Regions from separate parts of the Homo sapiens genome. Here region 1 is linked to region 2. The links are contacts of gene promoters, found by promoter capture Hi-C in human tissues and cell types (Jung and others, 2019). All regions are on one chromosome and are shown on one strand. The core of a region is centred on a gene start or on the middle of the fragment in contact, and the rest is flanking DNA. Distances in the headings are between cores, read along the strand shown. Region 1 overlaps MTA3 (metastasis associated 1 family member 3). Region 2 holds the start of KCNG3 (potassium voltage-gated channel modifier subfamily G member 3).

The links. Contacts are between HindIII fragments. The study calls those that stand out against the background at their distance.
Region 1: a fragment that was not itself captured here is called in contact with the fragment with the promoter of KCNG3 in region 2 in 1 of the 25 tissues and cell types used here (H1 embryonic stem cells).

Annotation. Positions count from the first base shown.
Region 1 is chr2:42,734,608-42,739,443 of GRCh38, reverse strand. The region is part of intron 16 of MTA3 (metastasis associated 1 family member 3); the gene reads right to left. Among named protein-coding and RNA genes, the nearest start is that of OXER1, 27 kb to the left of the region's middle. The HindIII fragment of the contact is 5,886 bases long and covers 1-4,836 here.
Region 2 is chr2:42,490,086-42,495,462 of GRCh38, reverse strand. It overlaps KCNG3 (potassium voltage-gated channel modifier subfamily G member 3), which reads left to right and starts at 1,481. Exons shown (of 2, transcript NM_133329.6): 1 at 1,481-2,626. The coding sequence starts at 1,962. It also overlaps a transcript of MTA3 not described here. RefSeq lists enhancers at 160-454, 1,779-2,536, 2,537-3,294 and silencers at 1,209-1,288, 1,379-1,428, 1,609-1,698. The HindIII fragment of the contact is 23,685 bases long and covers 1-5,377 here.

The DNA.
Region 1 (4,836 bases), core at 997-3,496, 240 kb before region 2:
CAATAAAGTATTTTTAAAATTAAGGTATATACATTGTTATTTTATACATAATGCTATTGCACACTTAATAGACTACAGTATAGTGTAAACATAATTATTGTCTGTTTGTTTTTGAGACAAGGTCTCACTCTTACTGGGGGACCTGCCCCGATAATCACGTAGGTTCTTTTCTATTTTCCTAAGTGTCGGCTGGCTTGAGAAATAAAGGGACAGTGTACAAAAGAGAGAAATTTTAAAGCTGGGCATCTGGGGGAGACATCACACGTTGGTAGGATCTGTGATGCCCCACAAGCCACAAAAACCAGCAAGTTTTTATTAGGGATTTTCAAAAGGGGAGGGAGTGTGCAAATAGGTGTGGGTGACAGACATCAAGTACTTAACAGGGTAATAGAATATCACAAGGCAAGTGGAGGCAGGGCGAGATCACAGGACCACAGGACCCAGGCGAAATTAAAATTGCTAATGAAGTTTCGGGCACCATTGTCATTGATAACATCTTATCAGGAGACAGGGTTTTGAGATCAACCGGTCTGACCAAAATTTATTAAGCAGGAATTTCCTCTTCCTAATAAGCCTTGGAGCGCTATGGGAGACTGGAGTTTATTTCACCCCTGCAGTCTCAACCATAAGAAACAGGTACGCCCTGGGGGGCCAGTTCAGAGAGCTACCCCTACGTGCGCATTCTCTTTCTCAGGGACGTTCCATGCTGAGAAAAAGAATTCAGCAATATTTCTCCCATTTGCTTTTGAAACAAGAGAAATATGGCTCTGTTCTGCCTGGCTCACCAGCAGTCAGAGTTTAAGGTTATCTCTCTTACTCCCTGAACAATTGCTGTTATCCTGTTTTTCAAGGTGCTCAGATTTCATATTGCACAAACACACATGCTGTACAATTTGTGCAGTTAATGCAATTATCACATAGTCCTGAGGCAACATACATCCTCCTCGGCTGACAGGATTAAGAGATTGAAGTAAAGACGGGCATAGGAAATCACAAGGGTATTGACTGGGGAAGTGGTAAGTGTCCATGAAATCTTTACAATTTATGTTTAGAGACTGCAGTAAAGACAGGCATAAGAAATTACAAAAGTATTCATTTGGGGAACTAATAAATGCCCATAAAATCTTCACAATCCACGTTCTTCTGCCATGGTTTCAGCCGGTCTCTCTGTTTGGGGTCCCTGACTTCCTGCAACACACTCTGTTGCCCAGCCTTGTCCAGTGGTGCAATCTTGGCTCACTGCAGCTCCGACCTCCCAGTCTCAATCCACCCTCCCACCTCAGCCTCCCGAGTAGCTGGGACTACAGGCACATGCCACCATGATCAGCTAATTTTTGTATTTTTTGTAGGGACAAGGTTTCAGCATGTTGCCAATGCTGATCTCAAACTCCTAGGCTCAAGCAATCTGCCTGCCTTGGCCTCCCAAAGTGTTGGGATTACAGATATGTGCCATCACTCCCAGCCAACATAACTTTATATGCACTGGGAAACCAGAAAACTCATGTGACTTGCTTTATTGTGATATTAGCTTTATTGCAGTGGTGTTGAACTGAACTCAATAGTATCTCTGAGGTATGCCTGTAAATGCTGTATTCAATATACAAATCTGGGCCTGTATTCATTCGGTGGAAAAAACACTAGATTTGGAGTTTAGATCCCATCTCTGCTACTTTCTAGCAATGCGACTTTGGGCAAATTCTTCAACCTTCTTGAGCTTCTATTTTTTCCATTCCTAAAATGTAGGTTATAACATTTACCTCATAAAGTATTTGGAAAACCAAGTGATATAAAGTACATGAAAAGAGGGAGGCAGAGCAAGATGATCAAATAGAAGCCTTCAGCAATTGTCCCTGCTGAAGGAACACCAAATTGAAGAACTAGCTACACAAAAAAGCACCTTCATAAGAACCAAAAATCAGGTAAGCGATCACAGTACCTGATTTTAACATCATATTAAGAAAACAGGCACTGAAGAGGGAAGGGAAGAGGGAGGGAGAACACAGTGATTGTGAAACTTTGCATTGGAACCCAGTGCTGCCCTGACACAGTGGAAAGCAATACGAGGCAGAACTCAGCCGGTGCCCACAGAAGGAGCATTTAGGCCAGCCTTAGCCAGAGGGGAATAGCTCATCCCAGCAGTTGGAACCTGAGTTCTGGCAAGCCCTTCCACTGTGGGTTAAAGTGCTCTGGGTTCCTAAATAAACTTGAAAGGCAGTCTAGGCCACAAGGACTGCAATTCCTAGGCAAATCCTGGTGCTGTGCTGGTCTTGGAGCCAATGGACTTGGGGAGCATATCACCTAGTGAGATACCAGCCAGGGCTGCTAAGGGAATGCTTACACCACACTTCCCCCAGTCTCAGGCAGCACAGCTCACAGCCCTTGCAGAGACTCCTTCCTCCTGCTTAGGAGAGAAAAGGATAGAGTAAAGAGGACTTTCTCTTGCAACTTTGATACTGGCTCAGCCACAGTAGGATGGGGCACCAGACACAGCTGTGAGGCCCCCATTCCAGGCCCTAACTCCCAGATGACATTTGAAAACACACTTCAAGCAGGAAGAAAGCCCACTGCCTTGAAGGGAAGGATCCAGTCCTGGCAGGATTCACCAGCTGCTGACTAAAAAGCCCTTGGGCCCTGAATAATCAGCAGTGGTATCCAGGCAGTACTTGTTGTGTGCCTTGGATGAGACTCAGAGACATGCTGGCTTCAGATGTGACCCAGCACATTCCCAGGTGGGTGGCTATGAGGAGAGACTCTTTCTGCTTGAGGAAAGGAGAGAGAAGAGTAAGAAGACTTTGTCTTACAACTTGGGTACCAGATTGGCCACTCTAGGGTAGAACACCAGGTAGATTCCTAAGGTTCCTGACTCCAGGCCCTGGCTCCCAGTTGGCATCTCTGGACCTACTTGGGGTCACAGTGAACTCACTGCCCTGAAGGGAAGATGCCTGGCTGGATATGCCACCTGCTGATTGGAGAGTCCTTGGACCTTGAGTGAACACAGGTGGTAGCCAGGCAGTGATCATCATAGGCCTTGGGTGAGCCCCAGTGCTGTGTTGGCTTCAGGTCTGACACAGAGCTGTCCCAGTGGTAGTCGCCACAGGGGTGCTTGTGTCATCATCCCTTCTCCAGCTCCAGGCAGCTCAGCACAGAGACATAGTGTCCATTTGTTTGAGTGAAAGTAAAAGAAGAGAACAAGAGTCTCCACCTAGTAATCCAGGGAATTCTCCCAGATCTTACCCAAGACAACCAAGGCAAGAGACACAGCATTACTGGGCTGGAGGTGCCCCCTAATGCAGGTATGGCTGCAGTGAACAAAGACTTAGATCACAACACCCAAATCCCTTCTAATAGTTGGAAAGCCTTCCCAAGAAGGATGCGGACAAACAAGCCCAAACTGTGAAGACTACAACAAATACCTAACTCTTCAATGCCCAGACACTGAAGAATATCCACAAACTTCAAGACCATCCATGAAAACATGACCTCACCAAACAAGCTAAATAAGACACCAGTGACCAATCCCAGAGAGATGGAGATATGTGTCCTTTCAGACAGAGAATTCAAAATAAGTGTTTTGAGGAAGCACAACAGAATTCAATAATAGAATAAAATTAAGAAAGATGCTGAAATAATTTAAAAGACCCAAGCAGAAATTCTGGAGCGAAAAATGCAATTGACATACTGAAAAATACATCAGAGTCTCTTAATGAATTGATCAAGCACAAGAAAGAATTAGTCAGCTTGAAGACAGGCTATTTGAAATACACAGTCAGAGGAGACAAGAGAATAAAGAATAAAAAGCAATGAAGCACACTTAAAAGATCTAGAAAATAGCTTCAAAGGGGCAAATCTAAAAGTTATTGTTCTTAAAGAGGAAGTAGAGGGACAGATTGTAGAAAGATTATTCAAAGGGATAACAGAAAACTTCTCAAACCTAGAGAAAGATATCAATATTTAAGTACAAGAAGGTTATAGGATATCAAGCACATTTAACCCAAAGAAGATTACCTCAAGACATTTAATAATCAAACTCCCAAAAGTCAAGGATTTTAAAAAGATCCTAAAAGTAGCAAGAGAAAAGGAACAAATATCATACAAAGGAGATCCAATATGTCTGGCAGCAGACTTCTTAGTGGAAACCTTACAGGCCAGAATAGAGTGTCACGATATATTTAAAGTGCTAAAGGAAAAAAACTTTTATCTTAGAATAGTATATCCAGCAAAAATATCCTTCAAGCATGAAGGAGTAATAAAGATTTTCCCAGACAAACAAAAGCTAAAAAATGTCATCAACACTATACCTGTCCTACAAGAAATGCTAAAGGGAGTTCTTCAATCTGAAAGAAAAAGACATTAATGAGCAATAAGAAATGATCTGAAGGTACAAAACTTACTGGTAATAGTAAGCACACAGAAAAACACAGAATATTATAACAGTGTAATTGTCTGTAAACTACTCATATCTTGACTAGAAAGACTAAAATATGAAGCTATCAAAAATAATAACTACAACAACTTTGCAAGAGATAAGCAGTATAAGATATAAATATAAACAACAAAAAGTTAAAAAGCGGGGGATGAAGTTAAAGTGTAGAGAGTTTCCACTAGTTTTCTCTTTGCCTATTTGTTTGTCTGTTTATGCAATCAGTGTCAACTTGGCATCAGTTTAAAATAACAGGTTATAAGATATTTTTTGCAAGCCTTATGGTAACCAGAAATCAAAAAACATACAACAGATACACAAAAAATAAAAGGCAGGAAATTAAAACATAACACCAGAGAAAATCAATTTCACTAAAAGGAAGACAGGAAGGAAGAAGGAAGAGAAGACCACAAAAT
Region 2 (5,377 bases), core at 232-2,731:
ACCCAGTAGACACTAAATAGCAAAATAGATACTGAATAGCAAACTATTTAGTAGATACTAAAGTAGCAAATAACTCCTGTTTTTGAGCTTTTAATCACATTTAGTGCTCTTAAGATAAATTATCCAAGTCTGGGGATAAACAACTCACAGAGATTTTCATTCTTTAAGAAGCCACCGAGAGTGATTTTACTTAAAAGACAGCACTCACATTTTCAGTTGTCTGCCTTTTCACTAGGAATCCACTTAAGAACCAGCGCAAAAGGACTCCGTTTGGCGACCTCTAGCGGGCACCGGACAATCCTACAAAATTACGAAAAGTAGAGGGCAATGAAAAACTCTTCCCTTTAACCAGCCAGGTTACCCTGTGGTCAGATGACCGCATCTCACCCTACCCCACCCTTATTTTTTTCTTCTAGTATTTGTTTTGCATCTAACACGGTTCGCCTTACAACTCACCTGTCTCGCCTCCGGCGGGCTGGGCTGCCGGTGTCGGGTGTCAGGTGAATGAATTGCTGGTAGCAGTTTAAAATAATCCCTGCCAAGTGGAACCCGCTTTCTGGGCACGGACAAGAGCGCGGGGTAGATCGCTCTGCGGAGCCTTCACGGGGCTCTTCCCGCTCGGAGGGCCGGTGCTGCAGCCGGGTCAGGGGTGCGCGGGGGAAATCAAGATATTTTGAAAAGGAGGATGCAGACGAAGACCAAGAGAAAGGCTGTTTTTGCCGGTGACAAGGCGTTCCTCCCCAGACTTTCATCCCACTCTAAGGGCAGCATCTCGAGAGGGTCCAGGCGCGCTACACGTTAGGCGCCTTCTCAGGACTCGCGCCCCAGAACGTGGGGGCCGGGGCCGGGTCGGGGACCGCTTCCCTCCGCGGGCTGGCAGGCGGCACCGAGGCTGGGGGATGGGGCGTGTAGCCGCCCTCTGAGCACGCGGTACGTGGGTCGCCCCGCGCGGCGGTAGGAAGAGCAAAGTCGGCAGGAAAAGCCGTGGCTGGGATGCCTTCCCTGAGAAATCCTTAGGGGCGATGTCAGAACCCGAGCTGGGCTCCGGACAGTTTCTGGAAAAAGCTCTCCAAACGCCGTCTGTCCCCGCACCCGAGTCCACACTGGGCTTTGAACCAGGGCTGTTAAAAGGGGCCCTGGGGACTGCCCAATTCATCCCGATGGCCCAGGGCAGGACGCGGGAGCAGGCATCCCGGCGCTGGGCTCCCCGCTCCCCCGCCCTGCGGACCCCTCCCCGCCACTACGGGCCGGAGCGGAGGGGGAGGACGGCGTCACGAGGCGGGGAGCCCGAGGTCCAGGGCGGGGCGCCCGGGAATCCCAGCCCGAGCAAGCCGGGGAGGTGCGGGCGCGGGCGGGAAGCGGAGGGCGGCGCGGAGGGAGGTGAGCGGCGCGCGCGGAGCCGGCGGGCGAGGAGGAGGACTGCACAGAGGCCCCGCCCCCGCCGCCGCGAGCCGGCTCTTCGCCGCCTCCGAACCCGCTCACTTTGCCTCTCGCCTCTGGACGGCGGCGGGGCGGCCGCCGGATTCGCGGCCGCAGGGAGCGCCGGAGACGGGGAGCTATTCCGCCCCGGCGGCTCCATTCGGCGCCCGCAGCCCTCAGGGGGTCGGCCCCGCGGCTTGGGAGAGGGCACCGCGGCCTCGGTGTGCGCAGCCCTCGGGCGCGAGGGTCGGCGGCGCGGACACAGCCGCGTTCCCAGCCGGTGGGGCTCAGCGCTGGCGCCGGCGAGGACTCCCCGGCCACCCGCAGGTACCGCCGGGCGGAGGGCGCGCTACTAGCAGCGCCGGAGATACTCGAGCCCAGGGACCCCCGGGCCAGCGGAGGGCAGGAGCGGAGCCCCGAGGGAGCGCGGGCCCCGACGGCGCGCTCCCCCGTCAGCCACGGGCAGGCAGGCCCCGCGTGGCGGCTTGGGGTGGGGGGCTGCAGCGGGGCCCTCGGGCCGAAAGTCCCCCGGGCGGCCAGCCATGACCTTCGGGCGCAGCGGGGCGGCCTCGGTGGTGCTGAACGTGGGCGGCGCCCGGTATTCGCTGTCCCGGGAGCTGCTGAAGGACTTCCCGCTGCGCCGCGTGAGCCGGCTGCACGGCTGCCGCTCCGAGCGCGACGTGCTCGAGGTGTGCGACGACTACGACCGCGAGCGCAACGAGTACTTCTTCGACCGGCACTCGGAGGCCTTCGGCTTCATCCTGCTCTACGTGCGCGGCCACGGCAAGCTGCGCTTCGCGCCGCGGATGTGCGAGCTCTCCTTCTACAACGAGATGATCTACTGGGGCCTGGAGGGCGCGCACCTCGAGTACTGCTGCCAGCGCCGCCTCGACGACCGCATGTCCGACACCTACACCTTCTACTCGGCCGACGAGCCGGGCGTGCTGGGCCGCGACGAGGCGCGCCCCGGCGGGGCCGAGGCGGCTCCCTCCAGGCGCTGGCTGGAGCGCATGCGGCGGACCTTCGAGGAGCCCACGTCGTCGCTGGCCGCGCAGATCCTGGCTAGCGTGTCGGTGGTGTTCGTGATCGTGTCCATGGTGGTGCTGTGCGCCAGCACGTTGCCCGACTGGCGCAACGCAGCCGCCGACAACCGCAGCCTGGATGACCGGAGCAGGTACTCCGCCGGCCCTGGGAGGGAGCCCTCCGGGTAGGACGCACTGCTTCTCTACCCGTCCCGTCCGTCCTGTCGCGTCTGTCCGTCCCGTCCATACGTCCCGTCTCCGTCCTGTCCGCCTCCGGGCGACCGAGCCAGCGGGGTGCGCGCCCAGCGAGGCCCAGGCGCGGCCAACTACGGGACCGGTCGGTCCCCACTCCTACCCCGTTGTCCGGGGCACCAGCGGGGTCTGGCCCTTACACTAGACGCACCTCTTGAGGGCGAAATCCTCAGGCATGGGGAGGGGCGTGTAGAGATAGACAAATGTCCCCTCTTTGTAGTTTACTTTTGCGCAGAGAGCAACCTGCTAATTACATTTTTCTGAACTTTTATTGTTAGGGTTCAACAATTAAGCCTTGAACTAAGCGCAGTTTGAATTATTTGCCAATTTTTGGTAGTGTTTGGAAAGATGGATTCTTGTTATGGTGAAATGTGCACTCTCCACACATTCTATACACTCTGCCCCCGGCATACTATGTGCTGTAATGGAATCGTTATATTATAAAGCAGGTTAATTTATCGATAGACTCTAAATAATGGATGTCTGTGCCCTTTTCTTCCCCCTTTTCCTACAAAGTATGGAGTTAGCAAACCTCTTGTCCACCGTTTGGTAGCAAAGATTCACACTGCGACTTTCAGAGGGTCTATGATATGGGAAGGGAAAAAACCATTACCTTGAGAACAAAGAAAAATCTAAACTGTCCTAAATCCAGAAAACAGTATTTGGGTAAATTTTTTTTTCTACTTTACTAGGATGAATGGGAAAATATTGCAGTCTTTTCTTAGACTGTCTTACCTTGAAGTGGTGATAGCACTTTCCTGTTTTTAGTACAAGTGAGCATATTCAGTGGGAGGAATAAGCAGACTAAGGATGGACTTTCAAAGAAGACAGCCTTTTGGGGCACAAAACCCAAACTGCATATTATAGTTTATCTGTTTGACACTGTCTTAAGATCCTCCTTCCATTCATTTTTTAAATTTAAGGTTGTGCCCTGTCATGTTTTACTGATAGGCATGTACATGTTCGGAACGGCGGCCTTGCTATTGCAGTGGATTACTTCTACATAATATTCTTCCTGTAGGGAGTAAGGATTTTTATATAAATCTAAGAAGTAAATAAAATTGTCTAGTGCCACGGAGTCTATTATTTCTTCTTGGCTTGAAATCGAAGATACATGCTTTGAAAGGAAATTCATTAGGAAACTCATTTTGTTTAGTGAATTAGGTTCTAACAGTTTTGAATTTACAGATAAGAGTTACTTATTTGGTTCTCCAACAATACAATGAAATTAATTTATTTACCTAAATACATAAATGCCTTTTTTTTTTAAGGAGGGCTTTAGGAAAATGGACTTGGAATTTTGATTCTCCAGTAACTGTAGAATTCTAAGGTTAGTGAAGGTTTGAGCTACATTAGCAAAGGAAACAGGAGAATTGAATTATTATTAGTGCAGATAATGAGGGAGTTGACTGAACCAGTATATGAGCAAAACCAGTAAAATACCTCAAATATAATCTTAGGGGGAGGGAGGGTGTTTTGGGAGAGGGAAAGGGCCATATGGAGATCATTAATGTAAAGCATTTGTAAAGAAATGAGAGAAATGCATAGTAATTTTAGGGAGAGAAACACAAGAAACAAAAAAGGGAAGACAGAGATGGAAAAGAGGGAGACTGCAAAAGAAGTGAAGGGAGAAAAGTAATGCTTATTTGTGTATATGTATTTTATGTATGTGTATAATTATTCAAGTCAGAGCTGTTTCCTAGATACTTAGATATTTCAGGCAAAAGCATGTTTTTCTTAGCTTAATGGCCCAGTTTTAGCTTCACTGTCTGAGTGTAGGTATATGAAAACCAATATCTGCAATCCCAAACAGATAAACTGCAGGATGGCCGAATGAGGATGCTGCTCATTACAGAGGAAGCTCCCCTCTGCCCTTCAACAGAGAGGGCCCTTAACCTGTCACTTTAAGTATAGTCGTTAAAACCCTGCTTGCTTGTGGTTGCTGAAATTAGTCTTTCTAAAACATCATTCTCATTATTTGACCATATTTTGCATCTGCCAAATAAAGCCAAAACTTCTTTCTTGGCCTTCAAGGCTCTTTACAGTTTGATGACAACCTGCCGATCTTGACTTACTCCATCATAGTTTGCAAACATCTTTTGAATATCTGTTATGTTCAAGGCACTGCTGGTGTTCCAAATATTGTAACTTTCTGTTGTAAAGAAAAGTTGGTGTCAAGTTGGTGGTGTAGGAATCAGAGGCACAATTGATCTCTGAGAGTTCCGTTGTTCAGAGAAGGCCTTCAGGGTGGTGGAGGATGGAAACAAACCATGGTTGGAAGGTTGCAGAGGTTGTGCACTGCCCAAACTAGCAGGGAGTGTCATTTATTTTATTTTATTTTATTTTTTGCATTTTTAGTAGAGATGGGGTTTCTCCATGTTGGTCAGACTGGTCTCGAACTCCTGACCTCAGGTGATCCACCCGTGTCGGCCTTCCAAAGTGCTAGGACTACAGGCGTGAGCCACCGCGCCTGGCCAGGGAGTGTCATTTATATAAATTCTAGTTAATGCAACCTGTACAACCATATGTGCCCTGCCTGGGAACAAAATAAAAGAGATTTTTTAAGATAAAAGGAACATCGTGGGCAAGAAACTTGTATATGAAGTTTATGGAAGCGTGAGTCCAGTGATGGAGTGAGAGGTGGATAGAGAGCAGATGACAGAAGGCCTTGAATTCCAGGGAGA